4 separate regions of the Homo sapiens genome follow, and regions 1, 2 and 4 are each linked to region 3. Evidence: promoter capture Hi-C in human tissues and cell types (Jung and others, 2019). All regions are on one chromosome and are shown on one strand. The core of a region is centred on a gene start or on the middle of the fragment in contact, and the rest is flanking DNA. Distances in the headings are between cores, read along the strand shown.

What was found. The method cuts DNA at HindIII sites, captures the fragments that hold promoters and counts their contacts. A contact is called where the count stands out against the background at its distance.
Region 1: a fragment that was not itself captured here is called in contact with the fragment with the promoter of SHROOM3 in region 3 in 1 of the 25 tissues and cell types used here (lymphoblastoid cells).
Region 2: a fragment that was not itself captured here is called in contact with the fragment with the promoter of SHROOM3 in region 3 in 2 of the 25 tissues and cell types used here (neural progenitor cells and spleen).
Region 4: the fragment with the promoter of CCNI here is called in contact with the fragment with the promoter of SHROOM3 in region 3 in 1 of the 25 tissues and cell types used here (heart left ventricle).

What each region holds. Positions count from the first base shown.
Region 1 is chr4:77,187,182-77,190,574 of GRCh38, forward strand. All of the region lies in intron 3 of LOC107986292 (a long non-coding RNA gene), which reads left to right. Among named protein-coding and RNA genes, the nearest start is that of CCNG2, 32 kb to the left of the region's middle. The HindIII fragment of the contact is 3,395 bases long and covers 136-3,393 here.
Region 2 is chr4:76,965,847-76,969,094 of GRCh38, forward strand. The region is part of intron 1 of SEPTIN11 (septin 11); the gene reads left to right. Among named protein-coding and RNA genes, the nearest start is that of SEPTIN11, 18 kb to the left of the region's middle. The HindIII fragment of the contact is 3,733 bases long and covers 1-3,248 here.
Region 3 is chr4:76,433,802-76,436,962 of GRCh38, forward strand. SHROOM3 (shroom family member 3) reads left to right here and starts at 1,428. Exons shown (of 11, transcript NM_020859.4): 1 at 1,428-2,419. The coding sequence starts at 2,252. The HindIII fragment of the contact is 12,167 bases long and covers 1-3,161 here.
Region 4 is chr4:77,074,739-77,077,850 of GRCh38, forward strand. It overlaps CCNI (cyclin I), which reads right to left and starts at 1,251. Exons shown (of 7, transcript NM_006835.3): 1 at 734-1,251. RefSeq lists silencers at 579-728, 789-1,138 and enhancers at 1,319-1,548, 1,447-2,417. The HindIII fragment of the contact is 11,169 bases long and covers 1-3,112 here.

The DNA.
Region 1 (3,393 bases), core at 583-3,082, 750 kb after region 3:
TTTCCTTACTTGTCTACACCTTCATAAATAGTCCCTTTATTAAACTCTCAATTACACCATTTAAGTGTACCATCTATTTCTAGTTACAGCAACCTACCCATTTATTTAACTCTTCATTCCTTCAAAAACCATGATTGAGTTACCATTTCTAGCCAGGAACTATTGTGGGGACTGGGGATACAAAGGCAAATAATACATTCTGTTTTCCATGAGCTCACTGCTGGCAAAGGACACAGACAAATGAACAGATGGTGACAATGGAGCTGTAATAAGAGCAGTGTTAGCATTTTTGCTTTGAAAGGACATGAGGGAGGTCCTTAGTTCTCTTTAAGGACTAGCTGTGGTCTGAATGTTTGTGCCCCGACCCACTTCCCAAATTCACATGTTGAAATCGTCACCCCCAAGATGATGTTATTAGGAGGTGTGTCTTTGGGGGGTGATGAGGTTACTGGGGGAAGCCCTCATGAATGGGATTAATAGCCTTGTAAAAAAGAACCCAGAGACCTCCCCTGCTCCTTTTACCATGTGAGTACACAGCAGGAAGGTGCCATCTATGAACCAGGAAGTGGGCCCTCACCAGATACTGAATTGTCACATTGATCTTGGACTTCTCAGCTTCCAGAACTGTGAGAAAGAAATTTATTGTTTATAAGCTATCCTATCTATGTTATTTTGTTATACCAGCCAGAATGGACTAAGACAGGGATCTAGCAGAGAAATGCTTTCTGAAGAAGAAAAAATTGGCTGGGTGCAGTGGTTCACACCTGTAATTTCAGCATTTTGGGAGGCTGAGGTGGGAAGATCGCTTGTGGCCAGGAGTTTCAAACCACCCTGGGCAACATGGAGAGACCCCATCTGTACAAAAAAAATTTTTTTTTTAAAATTAGCCAGGTGTGGTGGTGCATGCCTGTGGTCCTAGCTACTCTAGAGGCTAAGTCAGAAGGATCACTTGAGCCCAGGAGGTGAAGACTGCAGTGAGCTGTGATTGTGCCACTGCACTCCCATCTGGCCTGTGGAGTAAGACCCTGTGTCAGAAAAAAAAAAAAAAAAAGAAAACCTTGCTTTTGCTTTCACTGTTGGAAGTCAAAGTGGAATAAGATAAGTGGGAATTAGCCAGGATGGGGAAGATGAAAGAGAGATGAGAGTGTACTAGAAGTGGGAATAGTTTTGGAAAAATGCTAGGAGGAGGATCAACTAAGGGGGTCAGAGCAGAGATGGAATTTGAAGACTGGTAGAAGACTGGCTCAGGCAGTAAACGGCTTTTTTTCTCTACTCTTTTTGCAGGAATTTTGTCTTTATCCTGAACGTGATGGGAAGCCAGGGAAGGCTTTTGTGTTTTAGAAACGTCTCTCTGGATGCAGTGTATAGAAGGACCTAGAGAGTGGGCCCTGAAGGTAGTGAAAACAGTTGGGAGGGCAGAGCAAGGCGGTAGGCGAGAAATGAGGGCTGAAACTAGGGTTGTTGCAGAGTGGATGCTGACGAGGGAGAACTCAGGAGAAGGTCTACGTGGGTAGCCTTTTTACCACAGTACTTGCAGCTGCTCTCTCATTTTAAACTGGGGATGTATAAATATAGCCGTGGCAGGGAATTGGAAAGTTTTAGCTCTGTATACATTCTAAATTAGGCTTGTACATTTTGGAGTTCAATATCTTATTAATGTTGTAAAAGATAGAATAAATACTATTATATATCTGTCTACGCAGTAGCACCAGCTCCATCCAAATAATGAGTTAGACAGTAACAAATCTCAGATTCCAAAGGGCAGAGCACCAACACAGAGGGTTCTTCCTGCTGTGCTGGCGTGGACAGTGGCCACCTTTCACCACCTGTTCCCCTGGATGCTTTTGTTCTTCTATGCTGGCAGAACTAGGATCCAGGCAGGCTTCACAATGCAGCCAGAGTTGCTGATAGTTTTGGCGAATAACCTACTGAAATTAATCCAGCTCAGAATATGAGTTCAGGAAACTGGAAGTAGAATTGTTCTTTACACAAACCTCATTTCCCCTCCCTGTTTCCTCCTCCACAGACTCAGGTTGTGGTTGGGGGGAATCAAGAGACAGAAAAGAAAAGGGATGGGTGGATTAGGATTCGGAAGCAGTTTGTCTTGGCTTGGAAGTAATAGAATTGAAATAAAGCTATTGAAAAGAAAATTGGGGTGCTTTCACCACACCTCTTCTCTCTGTGCCGCCATCCCTAAGGATAGCTCGTGTGGCAGGAAGAGCATTTTATCTTTCTTCTCTTGTGGGTTTCAGGGGTCTTTCACGGGAAAAAAGGGATAATAGGGCCACAGGGAGTGGTTACTGGCTCTACCATCTCAATACATCCCTCTAAACTCACTTTCAGACAATCCTAGCTGTAGTACTTAGTGCTCAAGAGCAGGGCCTTGGAATCCAAACAACCTGGGTTTAAATCCTCACTCTGACTATTCCTCTTGGCAGCTGTGTAACTTGGGGAAAGTTGCTTCATCCCTTCAAACCTGACTTTTCTCATTCATAACATAGGAATATTAATAGCTATCTCATAGAGGCAAATGGGGGATTAAATAAGCCAAAGTATGTAGAGTACCTGGCTCAGAGTAAGCAGAGGGTGGTAGCTTTTTTTTTCTTCTTTTTTTTTGAGACAGAGTGTCACTGCATCGCCCAGGCTGGAGTGTAGTGGCACAGTCTCAGCTCACTGTAACCTCCGCCTCCCAGGTTCAAGTGATTCTCGTGCCTCAGCCTCCTGAGTAGCTGGGATTACAGGCACGTGCTATCGTGCCTGGCTAATTTTTGTATTTTTAGTAGAGATGGGGTTTCACCACGTTGGCCAGGCTGATCTCCAACCCCTTACCTCAAGTGATCTGCCCACCTGGGCCTCCCAAAGTGCTGGGATTACAGGCATGAGCCACTGTGCCCAGCCAAAGGGTGGTAACTTTTAATTTTTGGGCTGTAAATTAGAGATGGAATGGCCAAATTAGGAGTCCAAGCTGGGCCTCCACTTTTGTGCTTGTCAGCTACATAGGCTAGGGGGCAGTGGGAGCCTCAAGATCACATCCTCAGGCATGGTCCAGGGCCCCATCCTCTGGCCTTGAAGAGTGATGACTAACTGTGGAATGTTGCCTGGCTTCTCTACAGTGAGGATTGTTATGTGTCTAATTTTGAACTGGACTATCAGGTAGTTGAGCTTTCTATCCAGGAAGTCAACTGAGAAAACACTGGCATAAACATGCGGGGAGTGGGTTTCTCTTATTTGTTAAGCTTTATTTTTAGTGTTATTGTATGACTTGTAGATGAAGATTCTCACTGACTTTTGGGCCTGCAGAAGCAGGTGCTACCATTGCAGGCCTTGGACATGAACATGGTATTGTTCCAAATTCATTTCTGCATTATTTATACATTTGCAACTTCAAAGTGG
Region 2 (3,248 bases), core at 218-2,717, 530 kb after region 3:
TGGTTTTGTGATGGTAAAAGGATCTTGTATCATCGGAAATGCTCTCAGGGCTTGGCTCAGCTGTCTATTGATGTAAAAAGATAATGTGCTTTAGAAAAAGAGCTATATTGAAATTTTCACCAACTTTCTGATGGACAACTGCAAGCTTTCAGCTATAAGAGGCTGCCATTTCTTTTACATGGTTTTGTCTCCAGCAGAGTCTGCCCTTTGTGTTCCCTTAGGCTTTGTTAACTATGTTCCTGGGAGAGAAGGAAAGTCTGTGTTTCATCTCATCATCTGTGTTGCAGTTTAGTCCAGTTTGCTTTATTCCATGGTGAGTGGAGAGAGTAAGTAGTTGGATGGCGCCCTACATTTTAATGTTACCACAACTCAAGATTTATGCTAGTTTTGCAAAGAATTCTCTCATGAAATGAGTTTTATCTCCACTTGACAAGAGACAGTTGAATCCACAGTAGGGCTAAGAAGAAGATTTAGGAAGATATTTGGTCAAATTAGTTATCCTGTGCTTTTTATGCAGGATAGAGACAGGAAACTGTTAAGGCTTGTAAAATGACTATGACCTGATTAGGCAAATATAGCAACTATTTTCAGCAAAGAAGCCACAAGATGAGTATAGCTGACTTTTTTTTTTTTTAATGTATAAAGTTTGGAGATTTTCCAGTGATTTTCTAATAGACCAAATTTAAATCTAACAATAATACATCTTGAAAAAAATTAAAAATTTATGTAATCAGCCAGGCATGGTGGCTCACACCTGTAATTCCCAGCACTTTGGGAGGCCGAGGAAGATAGATCACTTGAGCCCAGGAGGTTGAGACCAGCCCCGGCAACATGGTGAAACCCCATTTCTCAGAAAAAATACAAGAATTAGCTGGGAGGTGGTGGCGCTCACCTGTTGTCCCAGCTACTCCGGTGGCTGAGGTGGGAGGATCGCTTGAGTCTGGGAGTTTCAGGCTGCAGTGAGCCGAGATTGTGCCACTGTACTCCAGCCTGGGAGACAGAGGGAGCCCCTGTCTCAAAAAATATTAAGTAGTCTAGATCTCAGTTAATGCTTATGCTTTATTGTAGTTAGAAAAGTGCTTAACCTGGCCTGTAATCCCAGCACTTTGGGAGGCCGAGGTGGGCAGATCACTTGAGGTCGGGATTTTGAGACCAGCCTGGCCAACATGGCAAAACCGTGTCTCTACTAAAAATACAAAAATTAGCCAGGTGTGGTGGCTCACACCTGTAATCCCAGCTACTTGGGAGGCTGAGGCACGAGAATTGCTTGAGTCCAGGAGGCAGAGGTTTCAGTGAGCCAAGATCATGCCCCTTTACTGCAGCCTGGGTGACAGAGTGAGACTCCATCACAAAAAAGAAAAGAAAAAGTGCTTAACCTGATGTAGCTATAACATTAATAAGAAATAGAAATTTATCTAACTTTCTCTTTAGTTAATGGCCAATGGTTTATACACAGTTTTGGTTAAGCTTCAATTAGGTTCCGTGTTGAATTATTGATGGCATGGTAAGATGATAGTAAGGGAGGCAAATGTGTAAGCCATCTATGAATGAGCTTCATTATTTAGCTTATTTATTTGAGGGAGAAAAAGTACCAAAAAGGCAACCCACATTCTTCAGTTAAACTGCTGGAAAAACACATGCCACCTCTTGGCTCTGACTAGGAAATGGGGGCCTGATGGTGCCATAGTCTTCAGTTTTTCAAAAGAAGAGATGGACATTTGGAATTTGATGTGAAATTTCCACATCTGACAATGTTGGCAACTAAATGTTTTAAAAATACTGTGTGGGTCACATAAACACATTTGCTGGTTGAGTCTGCCAATTTGCAATCTGATTTCCATTGGAAATAAATTTATTTGTTTTTCTTGTATTTGAATAAAGGAACCATTAATAGTTTTTTTTTTTTTGGTATGCCTTTTAGAATGATTTAACATTTGAACAATTTAAGCTTTTTGTGTGTGCAGAAAATGTGGCTGCTTTTAAAATACAAGTGAAGCAAGTGCTTGAACTCTGATATTAAAACATATAGATTGGTTGAGGACAACATCAACATTTTTGAATTGTTTCTGTAACAGGATTTCTCCAATACAGGCCCGGCCATAAGAGAGCAAATTTGGAGAACCAAAAGTTGATGTATGGTGTGAGCAGGCCCACAGCTGAGGGAGTGGGAGGAATTCTAGAGTGTGTGGTAGCCAAGCAAATGTGGCTCCGCAAAAACATATGCTATATATAGTGAATGGGGTTGGATTTTCTATTTTTGGTTGAGTTCCAATGACAGTTAATGGCTGTTCCTATAGGCCATGAAATTATTTATGAATTCGGCAGTGGGACGATATAAAATGCAAGTTGATATAGGTAGAATAAAATTTGTTACCAAATTTCAACAAATTATTAGTGCTAGAGCCAGAAGGGCCTTCAAAGGTCACCTTATAAAGGACCTTCCTTTAAGATGAGGAAACTGAGGCCTGGGGAATTGAGGCTTAAATTTCCCATTAATCCTTATTGAGGCCTAAGGACTTAAGTTGAGGCTTAAATTTCCTGTTAATCCTTCCCTCTACAGCTGAAACCCAGCATCCTCCCTTCTTTTCGGTCTTCCTGCCTATACAAAAATGCATCTTCTACGAACTATTAGTGACAATTAGAGTCTCAGAAAAACAAAAAAGGCAGATGTTTTGTAAGCAGACTATTTAGAAAACATCTTTCTAAAAGGTTGATTTAGGCTGTCTTTCTAATTATTGGAACATTTTTATTGATAAAATTTCTGTTGTTTTTGTTATGAGTTTTGAGACTCTTCTTTTCCGAAGCCTACTCTTTCATAACCTTTTTAAGAAGCAAAAAGCCAGTGAGATCATTAACAGTAAAAGAAAAAGATGTGGCAAAATTGCTCTTGATTTTACAGAATGTCCTAGTAGTGGGTTGAACCACATGAAAGTTGATATCCAGCCATTTCTCAACTACAAAAATAGTAGCTTCATGTGATTCAAGATGGTAGCTTGAGCAAAATGGTAATAAGGAGTATTGATGTATCTTCCTATTCTTAAAGAAATCCGTGGCATTTTACATGGTCATTGAACACTCCACCCCTCTCAATTTATTCTACTCAAACACTGTTACGCCAGAGCATTTTTATTGAGAAATATGGAGTTGGAAGTTAAAGGTTCCATGTGTACATGTGGAATAGTCTTCTTCCCACATGTTATGTTTGGCTTGAAACATAGTCTTCTTGCCTTGAAGAAAAGACTCCCTAG
Region 3 (3,161 bases), core at 178-2,677:
AATATACAATACATTGTTATAACTATGGTCATCATGCTGTACAATAGATCTCTTGAGCTTATGCCTCCTAACTGAAATTTTGTATAGCTATGTTACTTTTAATATTAAATGTGGATTCTGTAAAATCCCAGTTTTTACAAAATGTATTAGGAGTAACATAATAAGAGCCTCATAAATTAATTTTTTCAGAAAGAAAGCTGTTCATTTACCTAGGACTTTTATTTAAAATACATATGTTCTTTGAAATGAAAGAAAAGCTAATGTTTCTCCATTTATTCTAACTTACAAATTAAGCTGTAAAAGAAAACCACAATAGAAATTGCGTAAATTACCCTTAAGAATCAGCCAATTTTTACCACATACTTTCATTTGGTACACCTTAGGTTTCCTTATGTTTCCATTCACATACTACCATTACATAAGGTTTTACTTTTTTTTTTTTTTTTTTGTCTTTGAGCCCTTCAAGTGAAGTTACCATTGAAAATCAAACAATACCTGTCCAGTGTTGTAAATTAAATATCGTGTAGTTTGATATCATATACCTGCCTTTCCATATCAGCCTTTCATTAATTATAAGTACAAACACCAAAATAATTGTTATCAAGCCCCACAGTAGTTTTTAACTTCAGTTTTCAACTTAATTCTCATTATCCCATACTTTTAAACAGAAAAAAGTTTTAGTACATATATTACCTGGAAGTAATTCTAATCTGTTCCAATAACTAAATAGCTGAGGCTTCTGGGTTAGATATGGTTATCTTCTACTGTTCAAATTTTTAATACAAAGCATGAATGTTAAATTTGTATATAACATTATTACAAAATGACACTGGTAACATGAAATCAGAACAACATTCTTTCCCGAGTACCTAGTACTTACCCACAAGGCATTGTAGATTTCTTTTCATTTAAAGAGTGGATAACAATCTTGGAGTAGATAACAATGAAAACCTAGAAAAAAAAACCCACCTCCTGTTTTTATTGAGTCAAACAAGCAGAACTTTGATTGGAAAGTCCCATTTCATATATTACACTGGTAGTATTTTCTTCTAACGAAAAAAAAAAAGCCCTTGTGCCACCACCTTGACATGTACTTAAACGTTTACCCAAATCACTTAGGCATTGCTTCTCAAACTTGGCTGCATAGCAGAATTGCCTGGAGGGTTTTTAAAAACACAAATGCCTATGTCTCACTCCCTGAAATTCTCCTTTAATTGGTACGAGGCGGGGCTATTCTAGGAACTATTTTCTATCCCTTGGCAATTAGCCATCTGTATAGTATTTTTAACTTCCTACGTGTTATTAACTGTAAGACTGTTTGAATTGTCAGGTCTTTGTGGTGAGCTGAATTCTGCATGGCAGTGCTTACTGTGCAGAAAGGTTGCAATGCCTCACTTTGCCTTAATCCATGTTCCTCTAACTTCCTTACTCTTTCTCTCAAGAGGAGGCAAGTGGCTGTGGCGGCCGCAGCAGTGGCTGATCATCACTGAAAATACCAAAGAAAAGAACTGAGCTGCCTCCTTCATATTTTTTCCATTGAGGATTAATTTACCGTGCTTTTTCATTTTCTCTACATCCTGCAAAAGTTTTTTTCTCTCCTAAGAAACAAACTATGAACTGATTGTTGAAAAAAAGAAGTAAAAAGTTTTAGCACAGCTTCTCTGTCTCTTCGGGACAAGTTAGAAAATTCTGAAGTGAGCCGAAGCATAGTAAGTGCTTTCTTTCTTTTTAAGCTACTTCTGGGGAGGGAGGAGGCTATTGTAATGGTAAATTTCACTCCGAGAGGAAGAAAGGGTTGATAATCAATCAAAAATGAGGTATTCCTTTGAGTATTTGTGATTTTCTTACTATATTGTAAGATGCTTTTAATTTTCTCTGTAAAATAGGCAGAAATGGTTTTAGTGTGTGTATGTGTGAAATAAAAGCTCAGAAAAGCAATCTTCAGAGCGCCACTGAAGGAAGTTTTGACGAACGGAGTAGAGATGTATACCACTTGGGGGCTTCAGTGAGAACCCAGAATTCCTGGAGGAGGATTTACATTCAGAAATGTTGAAGTGAAAATTCCTTCTGGTTCAGCATCTTGGAGTTCAGCTTGGAAGAACATTTTACGTATGGAAGAATTTGCTTCTCCAAACCTCTCTTTTGGCCATTGTGTGTCCTGAAGGATGGGACAACTTGTGCTGTAGAAGCACTGCTTGCCTGAGTTTGCTTCAGGCATTTTAAATTTAACTTGAGGGATCATGTGTTTGGCATGATGAGGACCACTGAAGACTTCCACAAGCCTAGTGCCACATTAAACTCTAACACGGCCACCAAGGGAAGGTACATTTATCTGGAGGCATTCCTGGAGGGAGGAGCTCCCTGGGGTTTTACTCTAAAGGGTGGCCTGGAGCACGGAGAACCATTAATCATCTCTAAGGTATGTTTCTTTTTCCAATATTGCCTTTATTCAAATTGTTTTTTTCAACTTGTCAGATTTGTCAAAAATGCAAAATAATGAGAACTGCCTTAATATAACTTAATTTGCTGTTTCATGCCTTTCTGATTATCTAGAAATATTTTGGATAGCCTGGGATTTGAAAGAAAAATGTGTCTAGCTCATTTATTCTATGAAATCCGAAGAAAAATATGCCTGTTTGATGGATAATCTTCTCTTTTTGTGAATGAAATCGCATACAATCAGTTACCACATGAGCTTTTCAGTTATAAATCAGATTAAAGATTAATAACATGGTTAAGATGGTGGCATGGTATATATTTGTGCATTCAAAAATATCTGCTTTTTCTCTCTTCAACTGAAAATAGCATCTAAAAATATTTTAAGTTTGCTTATAATTCTGGATAATAGATTGCATAAATACCATGTGTTGCTTTTTTTCCCCACACTCAGAAAGGAGAATTAAATCAGCTTTCAGCATAACTCAAGATCAAAACATTTCTGCCTCTCCTATTTATCTGTATATTTGAATCCCTTTTTAAACCTTAGTCATCCTGCAGCATACCTCAATTCTTCATTTATCTTTTGGTGTGGGTAGTCATACCAATGAAATATTTATGTACTGGGGTTAATATTTCTATTTTTCTCTTAAACTACAGATTAACATTACTTGTTATAATATTGCTTTTAAATTTTTAGAGTATTTAATAGTCTGATACAATAG
Region 4 (3,112 bases), core at 1-2,500, 640 kb after region 3:
AAAACATAAACATTTTAGTTCAAACCCCTTCAGAGTCTGAATCCATCCTACCTCCCGAAACACCTTCCACTGTTTTGATACCCAATTGTCAACTTCTGCCAAAAGGATCTGTAACGGAGCCCCCTAGCTCCAGCGGAGGCTCCTCTGTCCTCCTTTCAAATTCCAGTTATTTAATCTAGCCTTTAGAGCACAACTCAAATCTCACCTCCCCCGGATTCCCCCCACCCACCCGCCCCAAGCCCTGGGTAACGTTGCCCTCCCCCGAATTTCACAGCACCGGAGGTTCACCCCATTCATTTGGCATTCAGTCTGCCGTGCAAAGTTAGTAATCCTCCTGGTGTCCCCGGAGAATCGTTCAACCTGAGGGTGGGGGTGTGTCCCCTTCTTTGTGTATTAACACGGGCTCGTAGAGCCTCCAACACGCACTATAGAGTAGCTAATTTGCCGCTGCCACAAAAAAAAGTTACTCGCTGACAGAAAAACTGGCCCGAAAAGGAACACAGTAGTGCCGTTTTCAAGTGGGCAGGTGACGGGTCTGTCTGGGCCGGAGAGGACGAAGAGGGCGGCCCCGAGGTTCCCCGGGCTGGGGGATGCGGGAGGGTGGGTCTCCGGCGAGCAGCGCGCGGCCAAGGGCGCTGCCACGGGGGCGGCGCGGGGGGAGCAGCGGGGCCCCAGCGCGTCGACGCCGGCCGCGGAGACGCGTCGAGCCCCCGCCCCCGCCCCCGCCCCTCACCTTCTCCTCCTCTTCCTCCTCCTCCTCCTCCCCGGCAGAGCTGTAGGCCTCACAGTGGTGACGCGGGGTCATCCGGGGGCCCGTTACCACCTCATTCTCATAGGCGCGCGGAGGCGGTGCGCGCGGGACGACTCGGCCAACTGAGGAGGGAGAAAGGGGAAGCGGATCGGGGGGCGCGGGCGCGGGCGCTGGCGCTCGAGCGGGACGCACGGCTGCGGCCGCTGGGTCGGTCAGCGAATTAGTTCCATGATGACCCCCGGCCTGAGGCCGCCGCCGCTCGAGCCCGGGTTGGGAGGGGGCTCCCTCTCGCCATAGGGCGGCGGGGGCCGGGGAGAGGCGGGGGGTGAGACCGGCTCTGCCCCTGCCCGGGGAAAGCGCCTCCGAGGGGAAATGGTGAAAGGGGGGGAGGGGAGAAAAGAAAAGAAAAAAAAAAAAAGAAAGGGGAAAGGGGGGAAAAATAAGAAAAAGCGAGACAGAGGCGCTGCCGCGTCCGCTCGCGGGGAAGGCTGGGGAGGGAGGGGAAGAGAGGGGAAGGGAGGAAGAAGTGCCGGCTTCCTCGGCTCCGCCCTCGCGGACCGATTCCTAGACTCGCCCACTCCTTGTAAACTACGCGGACTTGGTCTTTCACCCTTCCTGTTCCTCCCCGCCGCCTTCCCGGTCCAACGAAAGTACAGAGAAGTGCGGCCGAAAGGAGACGGGCTGGGGAAGTCGTTGGCACTAGGATGGAAGGAGGGAGGACGTTTTCTCGTGGCTAAGAAAAGCCGAAGGTCCGTGGACTCATTTTCCTTGAAGGAGCGGAAGGGTTGCTTGCAGACCGCACGGTGACGTCAGCGTCTCTGGGCCCCCACTGAGGGGGCGTGCGGTGGCCGGAGAGTGCGCTGCGCATGCGCCTGGGGAAGAAAGAAGCGGCCGAGCGCTGCGCTTGGGGGAGGGGATTTCACGATCCGCTCCTGTGGTCCAGCTTTACAGCAGCTTGGTTTTATCTAGCCCTACTCGTCCCCAGGCTCTTAGAAGGATTCACTGGGAAGGGGCTACTGATCTCTTGGGTGGAGATCTTGCAGATTTGTTGACCTAGCAAAGTATTACGTGTTCTTACCGTTGACATGTAAATAGAATTGCGGTTTTTCTCACTGCCACATTGTGTGGGTGGAGGGAGATTCTAAAGGGTTTTAGGAATCGGAAAATTAGGGAGAATCAAATCATGGGTGCTTAAGGCCTCAGTGAAACACTGTAAATTATACTGCTGACGGCGAGGAACCTGCTTGGCAATGTGGCAAGGGGATTTTATCCACTCAACCAACACGTCTGAGTATTTCCGAATAGGTTTTATTACCAGGTGCTTAAAGAATGTGTGGTGACATAAATGGGTTTTATTTGGGGTTCTGTTAGTACAAACGGTAACTTTTTGCTATTTTGATTGTTTTAATTATTTAAAAATATGTAGTATTACAGAGTTTTGAAAGAGGAAGAGCTAGATCTCAACCATTTATAGAAGTCTCGTTTGTTTTTTCCATTTGTTTTTTATATAGTTATTTTAACTGTCAGTGAAAAAATATGTGTTGAGTTTATTTAGTGGCCAGACTCAGCAAACTGGAAGTAGCCAAGACAGACATAGCTCCTGCCTTCATGGAGTTTACAGTCCAAACAGAGGATAACCATTGAGCTAATTATCACTATGTAAAATTACCAAGTACATTTACTTGTTTACTTGTGCATGTATCCCCTCCCTAGAATATAAGGTCGCAGGCGGCAGGGATCTTGCATGTTTCACCCTCTATCCCTGTGTATAAAAGGCTCTCAATATTTGACCAAGTAAACAATTCTGGTATTAAAACCGTTAAGATGGAAAATCGCCGGCTGCTGTGGAAACGCTTGCCTTTCCGCCTGGTTTGGGATATCAGAGAAGGTTTTTCTGAAGAAGTGACATTTAAGATGAGACTTGAAACCACTGGGCAAAGAATGATACAAGCAGAGGAAGTTATGTGAAAAGGCTCCGAAGCTGAGACGTTCTAAAAATCTCTGAAAGCTAGTGTGGCTGGCCCTCAGACAACTGAGGCAGGATGTGGAAGCAGAGGACAGATGCCATAGAACAGAAGAAGGAATGGGAAGCCCTAGGAGGATTTCAAGTGGGTTGTATCCTTTTTTTTTCTTTTTTTCACTTCATGTAGCCTATTATTATATGGTCTTCATTCAAAAAAGCCACCATTTTTCTGCATGTTACTCTTGAGACTGTAGCATTTCTGCATAATACTATTGAGAGTGTAACATAATTCCATTGTTAGACCATGAAATTGCTTCTGATTTTCACTCCAATAAGAATAATGCAAATTCCACTCCTAAATATATACCCAAGAGAAAGGAAAATATTTGTCCATGCAA